Linked DNA regions of Homo sapiens: region 1 is linked to region 2. The links are contacts of gene promoters, found by promoter capture Hi-C in human tissues and cell types (Jung and others, 2019). All regions are on one chromosome and are shown on one strand. The core of a region is centred on a gene start or on the middle of the fragment in contact, and the rest is flanking DNA. Distances in the headings are between cores, read along the strand shown.

Region 1 (7,483 bases), core at 288-2,787, 310 kb after region 2:
AGGCCGAGGCAGGCGGATCACTAGGTCAGGAGATCGAGACCACGGTGAAACCCCGTCTCTCCTAAAAAATACAAAAAATTAGCCAGGCACAGTGGCAGGCGCCTGTAGTCCCAGCTACTCGGGAGGCTGAGGCAGGAGAATGGCGTGAACACGGGAGGCAGAGCTTGCAGTGAGCCGAGATCGCGCCACTGCACTCCAGCCTGGGTGACAGAGCGAGACTCCGTCTCAAAAAAAAAAGAGAGAACCAAGAGGAAGAGATGCCCCTAGGAAAGGAGTAGAGGAGGTGGAAGAAGATTGCGGAATAGACGTGTGAATTTTAGTGTGGACGGTTGTCTGAGCTGTTGGTGGGCCAGCCTTCTGATATTTGGCCTGGAGCTTCAAAGAATGATAGGGTTAGTGATATAGATGCTATTTAAAGCTTTGCAACTCACTATGGAAGATGGATTGTGTGAGGCCCTTGCCAGAGGGTTGTAAATTACGTATGCCAGAGAGTGAGGAGGGCCTCAGCCTCCAGAGCAGTAGAAATGGACTGGAGGGAGAGGATGGGGAAAGAGTCAAGGCATGTTTTAGGTAAAAGTGGCAAGTCAGGTGGGAGGTGTGAGGAAGAAGGAAGAGTCAGGGTTACTCAGAAGACACTGGTGCCATGGGCTAAGACGGGGCTACAAGAGAGCAGGTTTGGAGGGGAAAGTGAGCTTAATTCAGTACATCTGGAGTTTTTGAGGAATCTGAAATATCCAAGTGGATATGAAGCATCAGAATATTTTGTCATGCCTGAAGGAACCTTACTTGAGTGGATTTGTCTAAGTAAGCAAGAAATTGTCTAGTGAATGGTTAATCTGTAACTGGGAAGAGGCCAATCCTGGGAACACGGATTTGGAAGTAATTAGCATACAAGTGATGTTATAGCCACAAGCACAGATAATACTGTTCAGTCAGGAAGTGAAGGATAGAAGGAGCAGTAGGCTAAGGAGTCCCACCAAGGAAGCTAAGTAGGAATAGAATCTGAATGGCATCTCAAGTCAGTGAGAGAAGGAATGGATTACCTAATAAGTGGTGTTGGGATAAGTGGTAACCACTTAGAGGGAAACAGAAAAGGTGGGTCCTTGACTCAACTGTACACTGAAATTAATTTTATATGGCATGAAGCTTAAAATGTGAAACACCTTAAATGTACTTGAAGGCAACATCAGGACAATTTGCATAGTCCCGGCATGAGAAAAACCTTTATGGTTAGAAACCACAAAGGACAAAATAGAGAAATCTGATCTAGTAAGAGTTAAACAAAAGACTCACTGGAAAGTAAAAGCGATTGGGGAATCTATTTGCTATGTATGTAACAGAGTTAATATGCATATTAAGATTTTTTTTCTTAGCAATCATTAAGGAAATGATTAATGCCCAATTAGAAAAAGGAGCAAAAGAGAATAAACAGCTTATAAATAAAGCATTGCAAATTATCAATAAACATATGAAAGGATATTTTAATTACGCAATAAAAAGAAATGCCATTTATGGCCCAACAGAATAATTTTTTTTTTTAAAGACAATCCTTGGTATTAGTGAGAAGTACTGGGAAATGGAGATGTTCCTGTTTCTTTTTAGAGATAAGTTTTCGTCATGTTTTCCTGCATGTTAAAGATTTATTGGAGGAATGTTCTTCAGGTTGTTTAATAATAGAGCACTTCATCGTTAAAAGGGAAGAAACAAGTTCATTCGTTTGGTAGACTTTTATATTTATTGAAGACTGTTACATACCAGTCACTCTTATAGCGTAGTTGAAGTGGGATATGAGTAGTCAGATGTTACTCTAAAGTATGATAGCGTGAGTCCCGAAAGATGGAAGAATGGGAAATATAGGAGACATTGCAGGGGGCACTCCATTGGAGGCAGTGGTTTTGGGAGAGGCCTTGAGACCAAAGGGAATGTGGAGTGTTTGGGGAGCTGCTGCGGTATGGAGAGGAAGGGGTTCATGGCCGTCTCGAAGGGCTGTGCCCACAGTATGGAACTGGAACTGTGTGTTGAAACAGTGGAGAGCCTTTGGAGGATTTTAAGCATGGAAGTGATGTATTCAAACTTGTTTTGACATGCTGAGGTTCATAATGGACTGGCTCTTGAATTAACAGGGAAGTCCACACTGCAATGGAGATTACTAAAACTGACATGGAGGATCCTGAAAAAGAAAAACTTTGGAAGACAGTCTATTTTTAAAAGTTCCCAGGAAATGCAAAGGAATTAAGAAAAAAAAATTGACAAGATTATTCTATTTGAATAATAGACCAAAAAGTTATTTTGGGGAATGAATATCCTGCATTATGCACAGTGATAGATTTGTCTTTATAATGTAGCAAATGTTAAATTTCAATATTATTTTCCTACATGCAGAACGCATATTGAAGTATGATACAGTGGAATCCCTAAGCAGCCAAGCTATCCTCTAACTCAGGTCCCCAGACTGTCATAGTTCACAGTGCCCGTCGTGTTTTGTTAATGTTTTTTATGATGCTTGTAGTCAAAAGAATTACCTAACAGTTCTCTTTATGAAATAGCTGGGTCCAAACAATTTAATGAGTATTTATGATCAAGCACTTTAGTAGCAGTTTGAAGAAATAACGTGTATCCACTTAAAAGGAAAAATATAATTGTCCCTCTATCTCTGTGGGGGCACGTTCCAAGACCTTCACAGATGTGAAAATCTTTGGATGCCAAGTCCCTAATATAAAATGGTGTGGTATTTGTATATAACCTGTGCTTATCCTCTCATATGATTTAAATCATCTCTAGATTACTTTAAATCATCCCTAATACAGTGTTAATGCTATGTAAGCAGTTGTTAAACGGTACTTTTTTTTTTACTGTTTTTTTATTGTTGTACTGTTGTCTTTTATTGGTTTTGTTTTCTGAATATTTTCAATCCAAGGTTGGTTGAATCTGTGGTTGCAGAACCCTGGGATATGAAGGGTCTATGGTAGTATTTTTATTTCATTCTTAAAAAACCTTAATTACTGATGAGATGTGTGAAGCTATTGAGTACTGCATAGCTTCCCAAATCTTGGAAACCAGCACCCTCATTTCCATTTCTACATTGATTTGTTTGGGTAGTACTTGTGTTTTATCCCAGCAATTACTAGTCCCTCCCTCTCTTCACCAAAGATAAAGATACGATGTCACACAAAAAAATGTAGCATGAGCAAATATTGAAACTGTGGACTACCTTGAACTAACGGTTTTCAGAGTGTTGGACAGATGTCACTTTATTTCCTTCAAAAACTTAGATATTCTGTGATAGCTCTGTCAGTTTGCTTTGGTGTCTTGGGGTGCCTCAGTGCAGTTTGGGAGCCAGAGCTTTAACTTGGGTTCCTAGTGTTGGCAGTACCTGGGTTAGCATGCAGCCTAACAATGAAAGTATACTGTGTGGGCATATAATAATTTGTGCCTTGGTATTCATTCAGCCAGCTGGCTTAGAGTTTTTGGTGTCTGCTTTGTGCCAGGTACTGCTTGGACACTGAGGGTTACAGTGAACTCGGATGTGTTTGCTCTCAAGGATCTGACGGTCTGTAGGGAGAATTATAAGATTAGGAAGTGAAGCAGTAGAGCAGAAGTCAGCAAACTCTTTCTGTAAAGGGCCAGGCAGTAAATATTTTAGGCTTTGTGGACCATTCAATCTCTATCCTAGCCACTCAGCTCTAACATTGTCATGGGAAAGTAGTCATAGGTTATACTTAAACTAGTGGGCGTGGCTGTGTTCTAGGAAGATTTACAAAATCAAGAGGCGGGTAAGATTTGGCCTATGGAACATGAATTGTGCAACCCCATGACATAAATATAATTAAAGTGTTGTGGAAGCAGCAGCAGATGGCATCTAACCTGTGGACTCTCAGAGGCAATGACAAACATACCTCCTGCTAGGAGCATCACTGCTGACTTGAGGAGGGTGCAGATGAAATTAGCAAGAAGGGAAAAAGGGTGCTGGCCTAAGGAGTCCTGAAGGGTCTGGCAGCTGTGGAATGGCAGCCATTTTAGTGTGGCCCGGACACACAGCAGAGGCAGTGTGCAAGGCCTCTTTCTAGGTTCTGACTCCAGTTGTATGGATTGTATATTTTCTCTCTTGTTCTTTTTTGTTTTGTACCTCATTTTGGTCAGTCATGTCCTGCAGTAGCTTCCAGAGAATGGGTACACGGAAGGTGATACATCTTTTGACATTTTGCATGTCTTTGTAAAATATATGTTATCCACTCAACAGTTTGAGTATAGAATTCAAGTGTGAAAATAATTTTCACTTGTATTTTGGAAGGTGTTCTTTTTAGCTTTTATTGCTAAAAAGTCTGGTGTGTTCCTCCCCTTCTCAAGAATATTTATGGGTCACACACCCAGTGTCTCATGTACACCCGTAACCTGCTCTGGAGGTGGTGCTGTCACCATCCCTGTGTTACAATGGGGGTTTGTCCACACTCACACCGCAAGTCACAGAGGCCTGACTTGACTAATTTATTCTGATGTTGTTCTTATTCCTGAGCCCTTGTGTATGGCCTCCACTCCCTGGAAACTTGTAACATCTTTGATACAGATATTTTGATATTCTCAGTGATGCATCTTGGTATCAGTCTTTTCAGATTCCTTGTGCTGGGTTATGTGGGCTCTTTGAGGACTAGATTTTTGCTAGGACTAGACCTATATACTGATAAATTTTGCATACATCTTTGTTACTGCAGCTATGTCCTAGTTAATCTCCTTGAAACATCACTTTGTTCCAGCTTCCCTCTTTCTGAAAAGCTATTCATGCCTTCCTGTGCAGTCTAGTCTTCCCAGATAGAACTTCTCAGTCTGGCCAAGTGTATGTTTTTCGTAAGTATTTCTTTCTTTTAACTTGAAGAGCCCCTACACTTCACTTCAATAACACAATGGAGTCTACCAAACTGCAGAGTTTATGATCCTGAAAAGCCTTCTTCACTGGGAGCTAATGCTGGAGGAATTTAAGATCTTGTGGGAGGGAAATGGGATAAGGAAAATAGTTGCTGGTCAAAGTTTTTAAACAATGTTGATGTTTCCTCCTAGGAAACAGTAAAGAAAGGGACACTAGGAAGAATACAAATGAGCAGTGCGGGTACTGTTTACTGCCTGTGTGATTGCACTTGTTTTGCTCAACTCCCAGCATCTCCACTCCTGTGGATGGGTGACCCACTCGTAGGCTTATTTACCTTTACAGTAGTTCAGAGTCTTTTCTCCCTCGAGTGTTCCAGCTTAGTATTTAATTTCTTTTGAGAATTAATGACAAGGGAGTCATCTTATTGTATGGCAAAAAGATAGATTCTTGAGATAAAAGATGCTTTGGGCTGTCTTGATTCCTTTCACCCTGACTGTGCAGGTGTTGCCTGAGGCCTCCTTCTGCACACAAGGCTGGAGGCCTCAGTGCCACCAGGCTAGGTTCGTGCCAGCAGGACATGCTAACTCACTCTCTGTCACGTTTCCTGATCTGTCTCTACCTACCTGTCCCCACCACCGCCACCATATTTATGTATATAGAGAGGGGTTGGGGGACAGGGGAACAGAGACAAAATAAGCAACAAAATGTGTTGGGACTAGTTTCTGGTATTTAGCTTTACTTTTCTCAACTCTTTTTTTCTAATTTTCTTCGGCAGAAAAGCCCTAAACCTCATGTACACTGGAACCAGAATTCTCAAGGTTGAGAAAAATACAAGTCAAAGTACATGTGTGAACACTCATCTTCACAAACAAGGCCTTTAAAAGCTCAGGGGCCCGTGTTGACAGGACTGAACTTTGCCATGTGGGGCCCCAGGCTCAAGTTCTGCCTGTGCTTTATGATGGTCTAAGATTGAAGTCAGCATATGTGTAAAGAAATAGAACCAGATATTTTTCTTTCCATTCAACAGTCTTACAGATTTATTCTGCATGATTACTTTTCTTTAGCAGAAGGGTTTATTGACTTTTTAAGTCCTTTAAAATAATTAGTATAGGAAACAAACTGGTCACCCTTGGGCAGGAAGGATACTGCCCATGAGCATATTTTGTCTGGCCTTTAGAATGTGTAAAACATATGCATTATTTTCTCACATTTACAAACTTTGGTGTTTCATTTAAAATGCCAGATTTCTACCTCATCTGGAAAAATCAGCATATTTGGCAAAATGAGGCTGGTGGCTGCCACTTTTATGCTAGGCAGAGGGGCTGCAGTTTGCACCTGCTGTGAACACGTTTGTTACTTGCTTTGCCCCTGCATATTTGCATTTGCACCCTGTTGCTGCATCCTAATTTTGAAAGTTAGCTCCTGAAATCGTATAAAAATTTGTGCTCCTCTAAGGAATAAGGCATTGACAGGGGAAAAAAGTGAATTCTGACAATGTTTCTATCAGGAGTGAGCAGAGAAAAGCTTCACAAGCATCACTTTTTTTCTGAAAGTACTTCGGAAGGCTCTGTTCATGTATTGTTCTGGCCCACAGTAAGTCCATTTGAAAGTTTTGCTTGGTGGGGAAGTCTGATGTGTTATAAGCACAATATTGTATTGCCCAAATAGACTTGCCCAGAATTCTCTGTGTAAATGTATCACACCAGAAAGTCTTCTTTATTATCCTGCTTAAGTTAAGCAGGCTTCAGTGACACTGCCGTTGATCCTTCTGTCCCTGGGCATCGCCTTCCTCCTGCTTACTGACCTCCTCAGCAGAGTCTTTGATCCGTGGCTGTTGCTGGCATAGGCTTTGTGCGAGCTCGCTACTGTCTGCGTGCCTGTTCCCTGCCAGCAGGAATGGAATATTACAGCTTCGCTTTGGGAAGTCTCTTATGTGGATCCTGAATAGAGAGCATGCCTCTCTGCTCCAATGGTTGAGGCTGAAGCAGGGAGGGATTAAGTGATTTACCCTCAGCCATACCACTAATTAGTAATGGAGCCAAGATTAGCATCTAAATCTGGAAGCACCTGGTCCAGAGCTCTTTCTCAGCTGCCTCCCTCCGCCCCTTCTTGCACTTCTTCCTGGCATGGCTGTAGGGCCTGTGTCTCTTTTTAGAATAATCGAAACTTGTAGTGAGGGACTGTTTCATTTCAAGATAATGTTTAGCCAGTCAGTGAATATGGTTTATGATTATTTTAGTCAGAGTTTGAGTTTTAGGGTCATGTTTGGCTCCATTACTCAGTTATTCTTGTACAGTTGTATAATTCTATAAATTCAGCAACTGGCATTTTAGATATTTTGTGAATACATTTTCATTCTACTAAGTAAACTCAATGACCCTGGAATTGACTAGGAAGTTATTCATTCATCCAGAAAATAATAGAACACTTTTGAAATGTGTGCTCACGCCTTTTGCATGTTATGGTTATAATTAAGCTATTTGGGATTCATTTCCTGGGTTTTTGACAGTACTTGACAGTAGCCGAGAAGAGATCTTGCCATCTGCTTTCACTAAGAAAAATATTTTTTCGAATTCTCTCAATGGGCTCCAGTTATTTAGGTGTTGGATCTCCTTTCCTTTA
Region 2 (6,715 bases), core at 682-3,181:
GAGGGGGAAAGAACCAGTGTTTATGTGTTCTCCCCAATGCGGCTCGGGTCCCTGCGGAAGAAACACCCAAGACCAGCCTTTTTCTCTCAAAGCCACCTTTGATACAAAAGGCTTAGCCACACCTGCTGGGACAAACGGGAACTGGGACCAAGATGTAAGTCACAAGGAGGCAATTTACAGCAGAGAACTAGCTCTTCCTACAATAAAATGTGAGGTGGTGAGCTTCCTGCCACTGGAGGCACTGAACAAATGCTACGGGGAAAACAAACTGAGTATTTCCTGAAGATTCTGAATAGAAGGCTGTGTTTGGAGTTTGATGCTTTGAAAGCTCAAGAAATGATTCTCAGACACAGCGGAGTTTGGGGACATCAAGGGCTCTGAGTGCATTTTAAAGCAGCCCAGGAGAGAGACAAAGCAAGACCATAATGAAACACCCCACCCAGTCTTAGAGTTTGAGCTACAGCACGGTGATCATGAGCAGACTCCAAACCCAAATCCTGATACTGTCACCTGCTAGCTGTGTAACCCTAGAAAAGTTACAAAACCTCTTTGGGCCTCAGTTTCCTCAATAAAATATAATAAAAAACTAGTACCCGCCTCACCCGTGAAGCTTAAATGAGCTAGCATATGTCAAGTGCTTAGAATAGGGGCTGGTTCACAGTAAGTATGAACCATTATTATTTGCAGACAAGGAAACTAAGAGGTGATAAGTAGTTTGACCCATGTTCCAAAGTCAGTTTTAATCTTGGGAATAAAACCTAAAAATTTCTTTCTCCTCCATCAGAATTCCTTCTAGCTCAAACTAAGTATCCTACATTCAATTCTATCTTCTCTGCCTTCATAGACCCTTCCATTTACTTCTCTTGAATATCTTGTTCCCAAAGTGTTTTCAAGGCAGGTCTGTTACCAAGCCACTCCATCAGCAGCACCTAGCACTGTGCCTCCCGCAGCAAGGCAGGCAGGATGGATGGACGGATGCAGGCATGCATGGGTAGGTGGATGAAGGGCAGATGAAGAACTATCGAGAAAGGAATCGCGGTGTCAGGGGTAAAGCCCTGGCCTGCGAGAGCCGGGCTCGGATTTCAGTGCCCTCACAGCTAGCCATATGGCCTTGGACAAGTTACTGAACCCCTCCGTGCCTAGGTTTCCAGAATGTAGAGGGCCACTTCCACTCAAGTGGCTGGAGAAGAAGGTAAGCGCCCCGGACGGACGCTATTGCAGAGTCGCCCGGGGATTCCTCTCTCCACCTGTGCTTGAGCTCCTCCCGCTTCTACGCTAGGGACCAGGTGGGAGAGATACACGGATTCCCAGAAAAATGGCTCTCTCAGGTGGGAGTCAAGGGTTACGAGAGGAGAGGTAGGGGAAGCAATGAACTCCTCCACACGATGTGTTGGGAGAGAGGAAAGAGGGATTCAAGTGGGAATTTTCCACTCAACAAACATTCCACCATCATTTGAGAAAAAGGCGCTGGGATGGTGAATTTCAAACAGTCTGAGAAATGGGCGACTCGGCACTGTGCGGCCTGTAAGGAATGAATCATTTAGTTTTCACCCACCAGGTAGGCAGGCCGGGGGCGAGGACCCTCCGAGCGCCGTCCGAGCGCAGGTGGTAGCCCAGCCAAGCAAACGCTGGGCAGAGGCGGCACCGAGGAGGGGAACGGGCTGCTGCACTCCCGGTCGCGTCCAGCCGGGATGGGCTGCGAAGTTGTCGGATTCTTTCCCGCACAGCACGGGGCTCGCCCGTCGGAAAAGCCACCGAGGGCGGCGCAGCGGCAGGGCGCGAGCAGAGCGGGGACGGGCGGGTCGGGGGTACTCACGCCGCGGGCGAAGGGCTCCACGAGCCGGGCCGAGTCCTCGGCGGCGCGTGGGGCGCGGGTGCGGGCTCCGGGGCGGACGTGCAGAGGCGGCCCGGGCCGGGGCTATGAATCAGCTGCGGGGCAAGCGCGGAGGGGCGGGAGTTACTGGAAAACCGCGGGGGAGGGCAGAGGGGTGAGGTCTTTTGCAATTTCCCGTCTTGCTGCGCACTCTTGGCACTCCTGGGACCCACAGGAATTCCCTCCCTTCAGTCCCGGGGGGAGGCGGCCGCGATCCTGGGGGAGGCGCAGCCTCACAACCCGGACTTTGCGGGCGGGCGGGCACTGGTGAGAAGAGGAAGTGGGAGAGGCCTGGGAAGGAAACTTGGAAACCGAAAACTCGGCGGCCGAGGCTCCGTGCCCCGCGCGCAGCGCTGCTCCTGCCCCGGCCAAGGACGCACGGGCCAGCCGGCGGAACCAGAGGTAAGCCGAGTGACCGATGAGGCCTGGGGCTGTGTATCCCACAGGGGCACTTGTCATCCCAACCCAGAGGCCAAACCCGTGAGATCCCCGTCCGAAAATCTTCAGGCAAGAGAAGTCCTTTAACTAAATTTTGGCCGTGTTTCCATTTGGCGTCCAGAGCAACGAAAACGTGTTTGAACCGAATCAAACGGTCCCCATTTTTCCCCTACTCGCGTTCTATCCAGAAACGCCCTGTCCGACAAAGTTTCTTCGGCTACAACAGTCCCGAAACCTTTATTTCCCAATGCTACGACATGCTACACATGGTTTACTTTTCCCCTTAAAAATGCCATCCAATCTTCAACCTTTTTTTTTTTTTTTTTTTGAGACGGCATCTCACTGTGTCACCCAGGCTGGAGTGCAGTGGCGCGATCTCGGCTCACTGTAAGCTCCGCCTCCCGGGTTCACACCATTCTCCTGCCTCAGCCTCCCTAGTAGCTGGGACTACAGACGACCGCCACCACGCCTGGCTAATTTTTCTATGTTTAGTAGAGACGGGGTTTCACCGTGTTAGCCAGGATGGTCTCGATCTCCTGACCTCGTGATCCGCCCGCCTCAGCCTCCCAAAGTGCTGGGATTACAGGCGTCAGCCACTGCGCCCGGCCAAAAATGCCATCCAATCTTTACCGTGTCTGGGCCTTTGAAAGGTGCATTTCACCTCTCTTAGAGGATAACAGGAGCCTTCCGAGGCAGCCTCGGACCGGGAGCTCCCATAGCCTCGCCTGTCTGGATGCCTGACAAATCAGCAGGCAAGGGGCCTTGCTCCAGATCAGCTGAGCCTAGTTTGGTTTGAGTTTGGGGACCCTGGAAAGTATCACAAAAGCAAGGTTGTAGGAGGGGGGTGGGGGAGGGAACCAAGAGTGATCAACAAGTATCGACCATAAACATATCTTAGAATCCTATATTGAATTGACTGGATGACTCAAAATAATGTCAGAATTATTTTAAAATGTTACTTTTGTGTTTGTTCACATATCTGGCTCCTCCCCAATGTCATCCCAAGGAAAGCTGAGAGTCCTTTTGTTTTTTTATTTTTCCTAAAACAAAGGCCTAAAGGCCCTAATACACTTAATACCTAATGGGGCCACAAAGACCATGATGCATAGTAAATATTTGATGATAATAAAATGTATTTTTGTCTCAATAAATGTATGGTCCTTTGCCACACCTCTCATTACTTGAAGAGTTTTAAAGAGTCCATTAGTTTAGCCATCTGCATGGTTATGGAAACTGCCAAGCCCAAGAGTTGGAAAGTCTTTATGATTTTATATTTTACTGAGAAAAAAAATTATTCTTTATAGAAACAGTTAAAAGGGATCTCTCTTCTAGCAAATGAGATGTCAAATAAAAATATTCAGCCCAGTATGAATTTCTAAAAAGTGAGGCTTATTTTGGGCTCCTATTGCAATTGAAGGAGACTGAAGTGTAAAAATTTGGTGCCCACATATAATTTATCTGTTTTTGCACCATTCTAATTTCTTAAATTTATACGTTATTCTAGAATCTAGATGCAGTAGCACCATATAAATTCGCGATTATACCCTTAACAGTGGGTGCACTGGGTCCATAAAGTCAGATCCACCCAAAACCTCCAAATATCAGTTTATTTGGAAATAATGTTTTTGCAGCTTTAATCAAGTTAACCTGAGGTCATATAAGATTAATCCAGTGTCTGCTGTACTTCTGAAAAGGGGGGAATTTGGACACAGACACCCAGAAAGAACACTGTGTGACCACTGAGACAGATCCTGCTTATGCTGACTCAAGCCAAGGAATGGCAAGGTTGCTGACCACCACCAGAAGCTAGGAGAGAGGAACGGAACAGGCTCCCTTTGAACCCCTAAGAAGAAGCTAGCCCTGCCAACATCTTCATTTCAGACTTCTGGCCTCCAGATTGAGAATACATTTCTGTTGTTTTAAGCCACCAAGTTTGTGGTAATGTGTTATGGCAGCCTTAGGAAACTGATACATAGGTTATGTTCCATAAGTTAGTTTTAAACAATTATCCTGAAAATAACTAATAGGAAAAAGATGAAAAATACCAATGGCTTATTAAGCTAAGAGCTAAAATATCCATCCTTGCTTAGTTTTGATAAGATTGTGTGGCCAAGGCACATATTATTCTGCTTCGTTAAACACTCTTTTTATTTTTTTATTTGTGTGTGTGTTTTTATTTTTAATTTATTTATTTATTTATTTATTTAGAGACGGAGTCTTGCTCTGTCACACAGGCTGGAGTGCAGTGGCACGATCTCAGCTCACTGCATGCTCCGCCTCCTGGGTTCACACCATTCTGCCTCAGCCTCCCGAGGAGCTGGAACTACAGGCGCCGGCTACCACGCCCAGCTAATTTTTTTGTATTTTTAGTAGAGACTGGGTTTCACCGTGTTAGCCAGGGTGGCCTCAATCTCCTGACCTCGTGATCCTCCTGCCTTGGCCTCCCAAAGTGCTGGGATTACAGGCGTGAGCCACCGCGCCCGGCCCATTAAACACTCTTTCTTGACGTTCTCTCTTCCTTTTGATTTCAGTAGCAATACTCTCTCCATTCTTCTTTCATTTCCCTGACTTCCTCCTCCCTCATATTTTTGGACTTCTTGTTCTCCACTTGCCCCCTACATGTTGGTGTTTCCCAGGGCCCCAGGGCCCCCTGAATAATCATATTCACATCCAGGATTTCAATGATCACTTGTGCCTTGATGGCTCTCAGCTCTTCCTTTCCATTGCAATGATTTCATCTGCACTCCAGACAGTACTTTGAAATTAGTATGCCCGAATTCAAACTTCAGTTATGCTCACTTGATTTTATTATACTAAGTGAATGGTCCAGCCTTTAACCTTTACTAAGTTAATGGGCCAGCCTTCATTTAGTGTCCTCTGGACACTGAAGTTAAAACCCTGGGAATGATTCTCGATCCATCCTCTTTCATCTTCCATCTTCCATCAGAAAGTCTCATATGTATAACTATTATGGAGGAGGGATTAGTGGAATGTATTGCCAACCTATCTAACTTCTCAGAGGAAAAATAGTTCTATAACTGTCAGGAACATTATATTTGTCTATATCTCTATATCTATGTTTACATACATCTATGAAATCAGCTATGTAAATTGTGAAATATAATTATGATTCTATTTATTCCACTACTGTAAATAGCTATAATTACAAGATGGCAGCATTTTGTTACCAACTGATGGAATTTGAAGGTATCGGGGATTTTGTGAAGAAAGTGACTTCATCACCTAAGCAGTGGATAATGGTTTACAATTACCCTCATCGACAAGTTCTGTAGAATTCTGTTTTGTTGGCATATTATCACATTTGACTCTTTTTAAATGAGACAGGGTCTGTGTCACCCAGGCTGGAATGCAGTGGTGCAGTCTCGGCTCGCTGCAACCTCCGCCTCCTGGGCTCAAGCAATCCTCCCACCTCAGTCCTCCAAGCAGCTGGGACTACAGGCACGCGCCACCATGCTTGGCTAATTTTTGTATGTTTTATAGAGACAGGGTTTTGCCATGTTCTCCAGGCTGGTCTCGAACTCCTAGGCTCAAGTGATTTACCCACCTCAGACTCCCAGATTTCTGGGATTATAGATGTGAGCCACAGTGCCCAGCTGACATTGACATCTTAAAGATTCACTTTTAGGCCTTAACGCGTGCCTCTGTGATTATTATTGGTGGTGATATTGGCCTTATTTCTAAAAAAAAGTTATTGGAAATTAAAATTATTTTGTGGAAATAATTATTTTGTGGAAAGCTAAACAGGTCTTCCAAAAAAAAATTTAATCTGAAATTTATCATAAAGCTTGATTAATTAAAGGACATCTGTTACTGAACTGAACTGGGTCCATTTGCCCACTGTGCAATGGAAAGCCAAACACCAAAACACTCGGTTTTCATAGCATGAAAAATTTATTGCAAGGCTACCAAGCAAGGACACGGGTCTGGCTCAAATCTGTGTCCCCACCTGGCACTTGGGTCAGGTTTTATAGCCAGAGGGTAACAAGGCATGACCTGATTGCATCTTGCAATAAGGTGAGGCTGGGAGGCACCATCTGACTAGATCCTGCCATGAGGTGACACCAGGGCGCAATCTCATTGGATCCTGGATCCTGCCATGTGGTGTCCACTTCTTAATTTAGTGATCCAAGCATTTAGGTTCTGCCCATGGTTGCATTCTTAGTTCATCTGAGCCTCCTCAAGTTACATGACCTTCAACCTGGGGGTCCATGGCAACTAAAAAACAACTCACAGCTTCGCTATATAAATGGTGAACCATAAAGTTGAACCAGCTAATTAACACAGGAACAGAAAACCAAACACTGCATATTCTTATTAGTGGGAGCTAAACATTGAATACACATGGACACAAAGATGGAACAATAGACACCAAAGCCTACTGGA

Evidence for each region. Contacts are between HindIII fragments. The study calls those that stand out against the background at their distance.
Region 1: a fragment that was not itself captured here is called in contact with the fragment with the promoter of OSMR in region 2 in 2 of the 25 tissues and cell types used here (IMR-90 fibroblasts and aorta).

The regions. Positions count from the first base shown.
Region 1 is chr5:38,531,723-38,539,205 of GRCh38, reverse strand. The region is part of intron 1 of LIFR (LIF receptor subunit alpha); the gene reads left to right. Among named protein-coding and RNA genes, the nearest start is that of LIFR, 21 kb to the left of the region's middle. The HindIII fragment of the contact is 4,458 bases long and covers 1-3,766 here.
Region 2 is chr5:38,841,228-38,847,942 of GRCh38, reverse strand. OSMR (oncostatin M receptor) reads right to left here and starts at 1,931. Exons shown (of 18, transcript NM_003999.3): 1 at 1,556-1,931. It overlaps OSMR-DT (OSMR divergent transcript), which reads left to right and starts at 2,114. Exons shown (of 4, transcript NR_109951.1): 1 at 2,114-2,275. The HindIII fragment of the contact is 7,742 bases long and covers 1-6,715 here.